Regions from separate parts of the Homo sapiens genome. Here region 1 is linked to region 2. The links are contacts of gene promoters, found by promoter capture Hi-C in blood cells and fetal thymus (Javierre and others, 2016). All regions are on one chromosome and are shown on one strand. The core of a region is centred on a gene start or on the middle of the fragment in contact, and the rest is flanking DNA. Distances in the headings are between cores, read along the strand shown.

Region 1 (6,599 bases), core at 1,648-4,147, 230 kb after region 2:
TCTGGGAAACACAAATGAAAAAAAGCATGCATTGCCCATTTTGGCTTTGAGCTTTACCTCACCAGTGCAAAAATACTCAGCAGTCAGATCAGGCAATCTGACAGCTGAATATTTCCTTTGCAAGGGTTTTATAGTTTACAAAAGCTGCAATGGCAGGGAGCTTTTGTAAACTACAAAATCACATGGATTACATGAAGTAATGTAAAGGCTAGCATTTCATTCTTGAGGCTATCTAATCCCCTTTGGATTACCAGGATGTACAGGGCTACTTGCTTTGAATTCCAGTACTTCGAGACTCTTAGGCTTGTTATGAATAATACTTATTGAGTGTTTAATATATTCTGCCAACTGTTCCAAGTGCTTTACATATGTTGGTTAACTTCATCTTCAGCAATCCTATGAAGTAATGTAAAGTATCTATGGGGTAAAATTAGTTTTCTTGATGCTGAATCCACGATCATACCACTGGTCTTCTCCTATTTACTCATATCTACCTCTTCTAATATACATGCCTAAGGGAGCAGATGAATAAGCTCTGCACAAGATAAGAGTAAGTAAGTCATTAACAAGTGTCACTCAACTTTGTAATACCTGTTTAGGTTCTTCAGATGATTTTTCAGATGTCTTCATACAGTGAAGTTGCTAGATAAGTGACTTATGGAAATTGTATATTTCATATGAATTGCAACCCCTATTTAATGGATTTGCCCTTCCTGTTTCTGTTTTCATATTCCCTCCCCATGATGTTAGAGCTAATTCTAGTCTTTTAAATTTGTGAGTTATAGTCTCAATTTAAATCAAATGCTTTGGGCATAGGTATATAAATTCGTGTTCAAATATACTTAAGATGTATTTGTTATTGTTGTGTGCTCCAAAACTTAGGGTAACTAGATGGGTATATATTTAGTGAAAGAGCACAAGTTGAAACTAAACCAAAAACTGTTATTATGATTTAGTTGTTTAAAAGAGTGAATCATTTAGAGGCATATATTTGAAGTGATTATCTGATATATAAACCTTTAACTAGATCTTAAAATATTATATTTTAAATTTAAAACATTGCTTTGAAATGTGACTTTGTAAAAATAAATAAATAAATAGATAAATAAATACATAATTGTATTCCCAGTCCCTTTCTCATTGAAGATAGATTGACTTTAGGTAGACTTATTAACTAAATTATATATAAGTTATGACTACATACTTTCCCTTCTTGCAGTCATAGCCCTTCTAATTCTTTCTTTATTAGTCAAAATTTTGACATATTTCATGTAATATATTTGCTGTTTGATGTATGGTACTATGAAAATTTGTCATCTGGCTATTTAAATATTTACTTCAGTGAGGTATAATAGAATTAGGACAATTGATTGAGAAAGGCACTATTTAGAAGATAATATATTATAATTGTGTAGTATTTTAGCAGGATAACTACATCATTAGCTTCATATTTATGCATATTCTTCTTTATTCCTTCTGAAGAGAGTCAGCAGCTTGAGATTTGGCCCAACAGCTACTGACAAGGGAGCTTTCTGCAAGGATAAAAGCTTTGAAAATCACTACAAATAAAGCATCTTGTTTTCCATTAAGTTACATTCAAATATCCATGTACTGTACCCTGTAATTAAGTCAAATATCAATTTTAATCACTGCATCCTTAGTACATAATTTCTGTAATGCAATTGCAGCAGTATAATATGGAGCAGCTAAAATGCCCTCGTTAAATGGAATTTTAACTGCGGGAAATTGAGATACAAAGAAAATCATCATACCTGCACTTAAGCAGTTAAGCTGAGAGATTTATGTTTAGGAAAGTAGGGGAAGAGAGACTGGTTTAATTCACAAATTATTGTCCCTGCTAGTCTACATCTATGATTTTGAAATAAGAATACTGACTATGCTTTGATTTTAGAGAGTATCTGAGAGTATCTTTAGAGAGTATCTACATCTATGATTTTGAAATAAGAATACTGACTATGCTTTGATTTTAGAGAGTATCCAAAGAAGTTCCTTAAAGATAGGACTCCTATTAGTTAATAAACTGATCCTACAATTAAGTTTGAATGCTATTATCTCAACAGATAGCAACATTAATTTTGGGGAAGAAAAGTATCTTCCTTTTGCTAGCTTTCCAAGAAAGGAGTTTGACTGTGTGAGTAAAAGCTTTATTATTTAAAGTACAACTTGCAGCTCTTCAATTAGGAGCAATTTCAAATGTCAGATTTAAAGTCTGTAGAACATCTCACATAAATGTAGCAATTGCCTTGTACATCACTTGGCAATAGTTTAACTCTGTTTAAGACTGGAAGAAAATATTTTGAGTAAAATAGAAATGACAAAGTAACTACTAGATGTCATCATATTTTCTTTATATTGACACATTAGCATATTAGGAAAAAAATGTCTGGTCATATATGGATATTGCCAGGCTTAAAACTCTTGCTCCCTTCAGTGAGCTGGCTCAACATTCATACTGTCATTGCTCCAAGAAATGGAAATCATCTGAGATGTCATTATGTAGCTAGTGGATCTAGAGCCTTGATAGAATATTTACAATTAAAAAAGACAAAGTTTTGAAAAATCCATGAATAATTCATCTGACTATTTACACAAGACATTCAGCTGAAATATTCCAGTGTTGCATATACAAGTGCATGCTTAAGCTACTCCTTTTTCTTTATGATGAGAGGGAAATAGTTTGCTGGGCACACCCTTCTTGTCAATGGTGCAAATCCTTTTAGAATCCAATTTTGAACCTGCCATTTGGATTAGGTTCATGTTCATAGCTTTTGAATTATTGATTACTTGAAGGCCAGGGCATCCCAATCTGTGTCATAGATGCATAATTTATCATGATATTTAAAAGCATGTATATCTTAAAGGCTTTTGGAACTTTATTTCAATGCCTAATGACAACATATCTGGAGCTTTTTATGTTTTCAAAGTCTTGGCAAAAAGACAGGGCCTTCTGGTGCTGTGGCCTCACGTGACAGCTCAGTACCTTTTAATGTCCCCTTTCTGTCTTTGAATTTTATACTTTTCCTTTCTGATTTGGTTCTTCCCCTGACCCCCAGTCCTTCACATCACTAACTCTTTCTTTGGTCTTTGTATATGTTTTAAGACTCTATTTCACAGGCCCCCCCATGGTGCCCCCATGTTTTCTTTGCATCTCTCTTCTTTATGTTCTTCTTTTGTGCATTCTGCCTTTTTTGATTTCTGCTGCTTGAGAAAACCCTTTCAGACATTTATTTCCTATTTATTGTGTTATTTTTCTTTGTAGGAAGAGCCTAGTTAATTTATTACTGGTCTGAATTTTGTCTCAGATGCCTCTAACATTTGCCACACCACAGTGAAGAAAAGGGGTGGAGAATGGCAAACTTCCTTCAACTTCTGTTGTTAGAATGATAAAAGTTGAGTGGGGTGATTTCAAAGCTGGGGGTGATTCAAGCCTTCCTCTTCTCCAGAGTTCACGTCAGCCACCACCACAATGAGGCTGCCACCTTCCCACTTCCTTGCTCTTAAACCTAACAATGACAATCAGTACTCAGTCACAAACTGACAGAAATTCCAACTTGCAGAGTCAGAAAAGAAAAAGGGGCCAAGGATTGCTGGTGAGACGGAAGAAGCTTGAAGTGCAGACACATGCTTAAAGGAAAACTGTTTGATAAAAACACCCCATTTTTCCATTTTAAATGCCTTTTCAGTTTTTGTCTCAATTATTTTTAATCTTTCTTCTAAAGTGAGGTTTGAGTAATCTTTTTTAGAATGTAATCTTTATTGGTCCATGAATTAAGACAGATTATTATAAAGAATTATTGTTTTATGTATGGGATACAAATCAGAATTTACATTTATGTTTTCTTATTGTTTTTGAGGAACGTGACTGCTGCCTAGAATAAAATATTCTCATAAAAGGGTAGTGTTCACAGAGATACATATAATGGCTTATTGAGGCCTTTCTTCATATTTTTTATGTAGAATTAAATACACTTATTATGAAGACATCTTAGGTGATATATTGAGAAATAAGATTTAAAATGTGATTCAACATTTCTGCATACTTTATGTAACCTGCCTGTGAAAGAACCCTAGGGTTGGTGAAGATAATGACATACTAGCAGTGTGATACCGCTTATTAAAATTTCTATATGTCGTTGTTTTCTTTCAGAAGATCCAATTTGATCCTTGGTGTTTCAAAATCCATCTAATGCAGGTTTTCTCCTGTAACAGAAAAGGGCTATCTACAGGCAGGATATCCCATTTTGGTATCCTGTTAAGTGACTTTTAGACTTCCAGAGTTTGTCTTCTTTACCACTTGATATTGACGTCTTACTGCTCTTCACATCTAAGCCAAAGGATAGCGTTTTCTTCTATATTAATTCAAAGGTTCTTTAAGATCCGTGCACACAGGCTTTGTTTCACACCTTTGAACTAAGGTGCCTGGGATGCCTTCCATTCCTCAGAACAGACAAAAGCGAGCTCTCAACTCTTCTATTAAATGACTCAAACTTGAGTTTTCCTATGACAGCTTTCTCAGCAAACTCCTAACGAGGCAAAATTGGCTACTCGTGGCTTTGGTTCTCTGTATCCAGCACATTTTTCAACAACAGCCCCTAGAATACATCGGGGCACCTGAGGTTGTGCTTGAAACAAAATAGGCATTCAATATCTACAGACTGGCATCAATATTGACACTTACAGACTAACAGAATGACTGACTGGTTAGATATCTAATCACTTGCAGTGCTCTCATCAAGCCCATGATGGATTAATTCACACTCCTATTCTTTTGCATATGCTTTCTCTCTGGTCAGAGTCTTGTCTAGCTGAGTCATTAAGGTAAGAAGAAAATGAAGAGGAAAGAGGGGAGAAATAGCCAACATGTACCAAGAACCTGCTGAGCCAGGTACTGTGCCAAGCACTTTAATTAGTTAATTTAAGCTCACAATAACCAAATGAGGCAGGAACCATTATCATCCCCTTTTGACAATATAGAAAACTGAAACCAGGAGATCAATGAACTTTCCCACAGTTACACAACTAGTGTGGAAATTGGACTTAATTTCTATCTGTATGACTATAGCTCTCAAGCTATTAGGTTGGTGCAAAAGTAATTGCGGTTTTTGACTTTTTTTTTTTTTAAGGCAAAAACCACAATTACTGTTGCACCAATATAATGATAACCTTCAATCATTCTAACTTATTTAGCTAGCGAATGCAAACTGGTTTTACAAAATCTTTGCAGCTAACCATTTCTCCAAGGAGTAGAGCCTGGCATGACAGACATTTCAATGTTTCCCCTTTGTGCAGAGTTAGATGAGATTATTACTATGTGACTATTCCGATTTGTGTTTTTCCTGTTCCTTGAAGGCATGGATGATGTCATCTTGTCTCCTGTGCCTGGATATTTCCTGAGTCCTAGTTGAATAAGTGAGTGAATGTTCTTATTGTACAAATTTTTATCACAGTTATCATATGCATTGCAGCTATTTATTTTATAATCTTATAATCTTTTTTCCTGGCCTTCCTTCTGATGTTGTTCAGAAACATCTGCCAAATGAATGAAAGAATGAAAAAGTGAAGTTATGAATAAACACAAGTGATTGTGGTATGGAAGGCTTGTTTCCAAATCTTACTTGCCAGACTCTTAAAAATTTATTTGTTCTTATCTGTCTGAATAATTCCAACTCAAATGTCAAGACTCAAGATATGCATCTTTTCCTCAGAAAATGCCACCGTCCCCAATATTTACACCCAGGGTACACCCAGACTGACAGAGAGAAAAGGCTCATTGTTGGAGCTTCTATCTCTGACCAGAGCTGGATGATGGCACTTCCCATGCTGTAATGCAACACTTTATTTTGGTCTAGGTCTCCTGATAGGCTAAGACCTAGAGACTAATATTTTATTTAACTGTATGTCTTTAATATGTAGTATATTTCTTAGTATGCAGCCAACAGTTATTGACTATTAACTGCTATTTGTTGAATGAGTGAGTCATTTTGTATATTTATAAATAGGGGTAGGATCCCAGAAAATTAATTAAAGGAAAAAGAAGCTAGTTAAACTTTTAGTTTATTTTTTTATTTCCCTAGGTTTTTGGGGAACAGGTGTTATTTGGTTACATGAGCAAATTCTTTAGTGGTGATTTGTGAGATTTTGGTGCACGCATCACCTGAGCAGTACACACTAAACCCAATTTGTAGTCTTTTATCCCTCACCCGCCTCCCACCCTTTCTCCTGAGTCCCCAAAGTCCATTGTATCATTCTTTTTTTCTTTTGAGACAGAGTCTCACTCTGTTGCCAGGCTGGTGTGCAGTGGTGCCATCTCGGCTCACTGCAACCTCTGCCTCCTGAGTTCAAGCAATTCTCTTGCCTTAGCCTCCCAAATAGCTGGATCTACAGGCACGCACCACCACGCCCAGCTAACTTTTTGTACTTTTAGTAGAGATGGGGTTTCACCATGCTGGCCAGGATGGTCTCGATCTCTTGACCTCATGATCCGCCCACCTTGGGCTCCCAAAGTGTTGGGATTACAGGCGTGAGCCACCGCACCTGGCCCATTGTATCATTCTTATGCCTTTGCACCCTCATAGCTT
Region 2 (6,299 bases), core at 2,800-5,299:
AATATTCTTATTTTGTACTTAAGCATACAGAGTACTTAAATCCATTGAACTAAATAAAATTTCTACATTATTTGGTGAAGATGAAGGCATCTATGTGTGTATAAGTGGACAAGAAATCACACAAAAGTTGACTTAAACTGAAAGATTATTAATTCTATGATTTTAAGTTTTAAGGAAATCTAGAATTGGGACTTGAAATAGGAAGGCACATTGTAATAATAGGAAACAAGGCACACTCATTTTTTACCCATTTTCCAAACTTTTAAATGTTAAAAAAATTACATGTGAGATTAACAACACAATAAAAACATTCTTGGTAATAGGAAGGAGACTGATAATCACTGAGAGATTCTAGACATTTGTTTCTACTTAAGACAGTTAGAGAATGCACCTATCGAAGAAACAAACACAAACAAAACAAAAACAAATTCAAACCCTTCTAAATTAACTATAAGAATAATGTAATCATACAGCATTTATACTACATAATGAATTTTTTGTTACTTAAATATTTTGGAAGACAATTTTGATTTTCATATGCAAGAAAGTTTTTCCTCATCTGAGCATCTGCTTTGATAAGAAGAAAAATCCCATAGCAAATATTTTAATGTTAATACAACCACAGCTAGCAGCAATAGTCACTAGTCCTTTTATGACTGTTCCAAACATATACTCTGTTTTCTATTTCCAGTTGTCTAATTTGTCACTAACGTAATAACTAGGGAAACATCTGGCAATTTATAGTTCTTTAAATTATAAGATTTTTTTTCTGTGATTGAAATATTGCATTTTAGAGCTTTAATAGGATAATGGTAGTCACTTGCCAATTTAGTTGAATATTACCTTAAGTCCCTATAGATATTCCTTGATTTAAGATGGCTTTATATATTAAGCTATTAAAAAGTTGATTTTTAGAAGCTAAAGTTCATATTATGAATAAAACAAAATGTAAAGTGATAGCTAAATTTAGGATACAAATCGATCAAATTTACTGTTGCTTATCAGAGATTGAGTATACTGCTTTAACAAGCAGCTACAGTGAAAAGAAACACAAACCACATAATCCAATGATCTTAGGCAATTTTGAAAAAGAAACATTAGGAGAATTTTGAAGGAAACTAATAGCATTTTCCAATCATCACGTGTTGGAAAGCTGATTTGTCAGTTTGCTAGATAACATGGGAGAAAAGTGTTCCTAAGCTGGGCTTGGACACTTGGTCACATTGTGTTGCTCTGGCTCCATATTTGTTTATTGACACAGCATATCTTCAAAACAACGTTTTAATCTTTACAACACTTGGACTGACTTCAAACTTCTAAACACAATTCTTAATTTGGTAGCCTACTTGGGAGACTCTTTGGCATTCTCCAGTCATGACTGACCAGAAAAAGGGCTAGGTAAACTAATAAGCATGCGGCTAGAGGGCAGGAGCTCGCATTAAGCAGCCAAAACACCTAAATGTGAGGGGTCACTATTTTTGTCCCTGTAACAAATTCGAAAGCAAAATACAGCAACTCTCAGTTATCTGCTTGAAAGGACACTGTGGCAGCACAGATAAAATGACAGCAGACATGCATCATGCATTTAAACTATGAGTTTTAAATTCCTTCTCAGCTAAGCATTTTACCTGGGCTTTGGGTAAGTAGCAGAGTAAACTTTTCTTCCTTATTTTCCCTCTAGCATAGGGGAAAATTAGTCATTAGTATTAATTAGTCATAATTGAAATAATAACAGCAGTCGTAAGTAGCAGCAGGAACAAAAAACCAAAACAAAATTATATACACAAATACTCACACAACTCTGATCCCAAACTAGAAAGAAGAAAAAGAAAAGTGAGAAACCTGAACAACCCACAAATCTGCCCTTTTCTGAATACTGACCCACGATAAGAGAGAGAAAGACTGAAGCTTAGAATGCTGTGGGACAGCAGCATTGCCGCAGCACCTGTGACTGAAAGACATTTTGCAAATCGCAAGGAAGACAAGTCTTCCATTGGCATCAGTGGAACCGGTGGAAGAAAACCAATTTTATTCTGAGTTGGATGATGGAAGAGTTGATTCAGTTTAAGGTCAAAGAAGAGCAGAACCAGAAATCAAGGCCTCAGGATGGGAACAAAGAACAATGAAGTCAGGGGGAAAAAAGGTGGCGGGGAGAGAGAGTGGGTAACAGACTTGAAACTAAGAATCACAAAACTTAAGCAAATGTTGAGACCTAGCAATTATGATGGGCAGTTTCTATAACCTAGCCTTAAGCTTAGACTTTTATTTTAAAGCAATAACCAAAACAAAAGAAATTAAGGAATTATATCACTGGAGGGAACCTTATGGGCAGAGACTTGAGGTTCAGAGTTGTGAAATAATGCTCTTACTATCACACAGCAAGTTAAGTGGGAGTCTCCATTTCCCTTCTCCCCATGCTTTCCTGCCCCTGCACTGTCAGGAAGGGTGGTGGAGAGGAAGGAGAAGGTACCAGGGCACCCGGGAATACATCACAGCCTGAGGACAGGTTATGCAGGTGGGGCCTTTATAGCTAGGGAAACACCGGAGAAGACAAGGGAAGTATGGCAGTTTCTTCCTTAGAGAAGACTTATAAGGGGGTTAAAGCATATGCTATGTGAAATAAACACCTGGAGATCCAAAACCCTCAGGTGGTAACTAATAATAAGAGAATCATGTTGGGATGCAGCATCTTCAGCGGGAAGCACAAGTTGCTCAACAAAGTAATAAAATAGATCAATAGGGTGCCAAATTTCTTGCCTCTATTACTTTCTCTTCTCAGAATGACACAGGAAATAAATGTAGCCAAGTCCCAAATCTGATCCCAGTACCCAAACTTTCATTAAAAGAGGGCTCCTGAAGGGGGGGAGTAGGTTTTTAATACTTAACGAGGCTATCAGCAAACAAAGAGAAGAGGCCCAGGTGGGCTCAATAGCCAGGTCACAAATGGTTGCCCAAAGAAAAAAACGGTGCAGAAGGAGACGCTTTGGGGAAGAATTGCTGAGGTCTTCGGGAGACTATAGCAGGCTGGCACTATGGAGATGTTTACCTGGACATTTAAGAAAATTGGAGGATGGAGTTGGGTGTCGGGCAGTGGCCTGCCAGAGGCTCTGTTTAGTCCTGGAAGCAGGAGACCTTTTGCTAAAATTCTGTCTCAGTTACACACATGCATTGGCTAAGGCTGTAGGGATTGGGGTGTGGAGACATCTTGCTTCTCCTTCCTCAGTTTGATTATTCAAAGGACATCTGGGAACCCTGAGGGTGGGAGAGTTTGGCCAAGGTTGGAGCGATGTCCCGTGTCTAGGACCCACCGCTATGGTTTGCAGGGAGAGAGCTAAAGGGACGTGAGCAGTGCAGGGACATTGACTGGGAAGCAGAGGGCGTGGATGGAGACACTCTTAACTTCACCTCAAAAGTAGCACAACTTTTAAACGAACGCCTTGCAGAGTCATACCGGCTTCCCGCTCAGATGATGGCTAAAATACAAGAGTTAACTAAAAGCCTCAGGAAGAAAGTTTATTGAATTGCATCTTATTTCTGTAGATTTCTTCCTTGCACTCGGAAGAGTTTGGTTAAAATGGATTGAGAATTTCGAGGCACGTGGCAAACAAACCTACCTTGTTCCCTCCCATTCCAGAAGCCCCTCACCTGATTTGGGAAAGTGTGGCCAGCTCCAGGGGCAGGCGCTGACCAGAACTACGGTCGCTCTTTCCTTGGTCCCCGAGAGCTTCCCAGTATAGAGCCAGCAGTTAGGACACCGTGACATGAAACTTAGCACCCCGCCCTTGAAGTCCCCCAAGCATGCCTGGCGGTCCGCGCGGACTCACCCGCGCCCCGGGCGCTGCGTCACGTCCCGCCGAGGGCCGGCTGCGCTGGTGCGGGTCTCCCGCCCGCCGCCTCGGCGTCCCGGCTGTGCGCCCTCACTCGCTGGGTCCGCTCCAGCCGCTCCCCATCGATCACCGCCGCGGCCCGGCAGAGCTGCTAGCGGCGCGCCGGTCCAGACGTCCTGTCACTCGCTGCTGCCTGGGGTCCTGGCTGTCAGGCGCTGGAATCATTGGCGAGGAGGCAGCTCCGAATTTATAGTGAGGGGCGTTGCTGCTTCTTGGGTTCCGGGGACGAGGCTCTGTTTTGCATTCCCTCCTCCTCCGCCCCGCCCCGGGAGACCCTCCCGGCCCAACCTCCTCCCTCTCGGGATATTGACGGCAGCAAGGATGATGCCACAGTCGTCCCGTGTCAACTATCAGATCAGCGTTCACCTGGTCCCGAACCCCGCCTAGCGAGGGGTCGTGAGGGAGAGCGAGCTGGGGGTACAGGAGTATCATTTCCTGCGGAGATTCGTGTTCTTCAACATTTTTTTTTTCTGAACTTGGAAAACTTTTAAGGACGAATTAGAGAACTTCTTTCTCTTTCCTATGAGTAACTCGAACTTTGGTAATACAGTTGTGGATCATAGATTACATGGATTAATTCCAGGGTTATGAAATTCAAGGGTGGACACTCATTTGTTCCTATTGGACATGCTACCCAAGTTGCATTTTAAAAATGTATTTTAAAAACCCAATAAATATTTAAAGAAGAAATAATATCAATTCTTCACAAACTCTTCCAAAAAATAGAAGAGTAAGGATGATCTCCCAACTCATGCTATGAGGCCAGTATCACCCTGATAACAAAACCAGATAAAGACATCACGAGACTACAGATCAATATTTCTTAAGAGTATAGATAAAAATTCTCAACAAAATGTAGGCAAATTGAATCCAATAACATATGAAAGGGACTATACACCATGGTCAAGTGAGGTTGATGCCAGAAAGCAAGATTAGATTAGTTTACCAAAAATCAATTAATGTTAGATAGGTGAGTAGGGTGACTGTAGTTTACAGTAATCTATTGTATATTTCAGAGTAGCTAGGAGAAAATAACTTGAATGTTTCTAGCATGAAGAAAAGACAAATATTTAAGGTGATGGATATGCCAATTGCACTGATTTGATCTTTATATGAATGCATTAAATTATTGCATGTACCTAAAAAGTCCTGTCACTCGCTGCTGCCTGGGGTCCTGGCTGTCAGGCGCTGGAATCATCGGCGAGGAGGCAGCTCCGAATTTATAGTGAGGGGCATTAAATTATTGCATGTACCTAAAAAGTGTACATCTATTGTGTATCAATAAAAATAAATTTAAAGAAGTAAAAAATGGACAAAGCCTACATGATTGTCTAAAAAAATTTTTAAAAACTATTGGACAAAATTCAACACTTTTTCATGCTAACACTCAACAAACTAGGAATAGGAACTTCCTCAAACTGTGAAGTTTATTTATGAAAAACTTAACTAATATCACACATAATAACGGAAGACAACGTTTTTATGTCTAAGATCAGGAACAAGACAAAATGTCTAGTCTTCCCATTTCTATTTAACTTTGTACTAAAGGTTCTAGTGAGGGCAATTGGACAAGAAAAAAAGATAAATGGCATCCAGATTAGAAAGAAAGTAAAACAATTTCTATTTGTAGATGACATGATCTTGTATTAAAAAGCCCTAAGGAATCAATTAATTAACTATTAGAACTAAGAAACAAGTTGAGCAAGTTTTTAGAATACAAGATCAATATACAAAAATCAGTTGTATTTCTATACACTAGCAATAAACAATCAACAAATGGAATTAAGAAAACAATTCCACTGTTGGCTTCTCACCACTTGCTGTGTGGGTCTGTGTCCTCTCCCTGCCTCACATGCTGCCATGCCTCAAAAAGTTAAGGAGATCAAGGACTTTCTGCTTACAGCCAGGTGAAAAGATGCCAGATCTGTCAAGGTCAAGAGAAATAAGGATAATGTGAAGTTTAAAGTTTGATGCAGCAGATACCTTCATACATTAGTCATCATAGACAAAGAGAAGGCAGAGAAACTGAAGCAGTTCTGGCACCCTGGTTTGTTAGAGAAGGAGATGAAATCAGACACACTGATTTGAACTGTGTTAAAAATTTAAAAATTCAAAGATAAAAACAATTTTACTTACTATAGATCAAAAGAGTAAAAATACTAAGAAATGACCTGGTGTAGTGGCTCACTCCTGTAATCTCAGCACTTTGGGAGGCCGAGGTGGGTGAATCACAAGGTCAGGGATTCGAGACCAGGCTGGCCAACATCGTGAAACCCTGTCTCTACTAAAAATGCAAAAGAAAAAAAAAAAAAAAAAGCCAGGCGTGGTGGTGCATGCCTGTAGTTCCAGCTACTCAGGAGGAGGAGGCTGAGGCAGAAGAATCGCTTGAACCCAGGAGGTAGAGGTTGCTGT

Evidence for each region. The method cuts DNA at HindIII sites, captures the fragments that hold promoters and counts their contacts. A CHiCAGO score of 5 or more calls a contact.
Region 1: a contact is called between a fragment that was not itself captured here and the fragment with the promoter of AGTR1 in region 2, in 1 of 17 cell types (megakaryocytes). The highest score is 6.1, in megakaryocytes.

What each region holds. Positions count from the first base shown.
Region 1 is chr3:148,463,211-148,469,809 of GRCh38, reverse strand. It overlaps LOC105374150 (a long non-coding RNA gene), which reads left to right and starts at 4,019. Exons shown (of 7, transcript XR_924571.2): 1 at 4,019-4,906; 2 at 5,371-5,430. The HindIII fragment of the contact is 1,463 bases long and covers 2,166-3,628 here.
Region 2 is chr3:148,695,653-148,701,951 of GRCh38, reverse strand. It overlaps AGTR1 (angiotensin II receptor type 1), which reads right to left and starts at 4,049. Exons shown (of 3, transcript NM_000685.5): 1 at 3,825-4,049. It also overlaps the pseudogene RPL38P1. The HindIII fragment of the contact is 4,344 bases long and covers 2,256-6,299 here.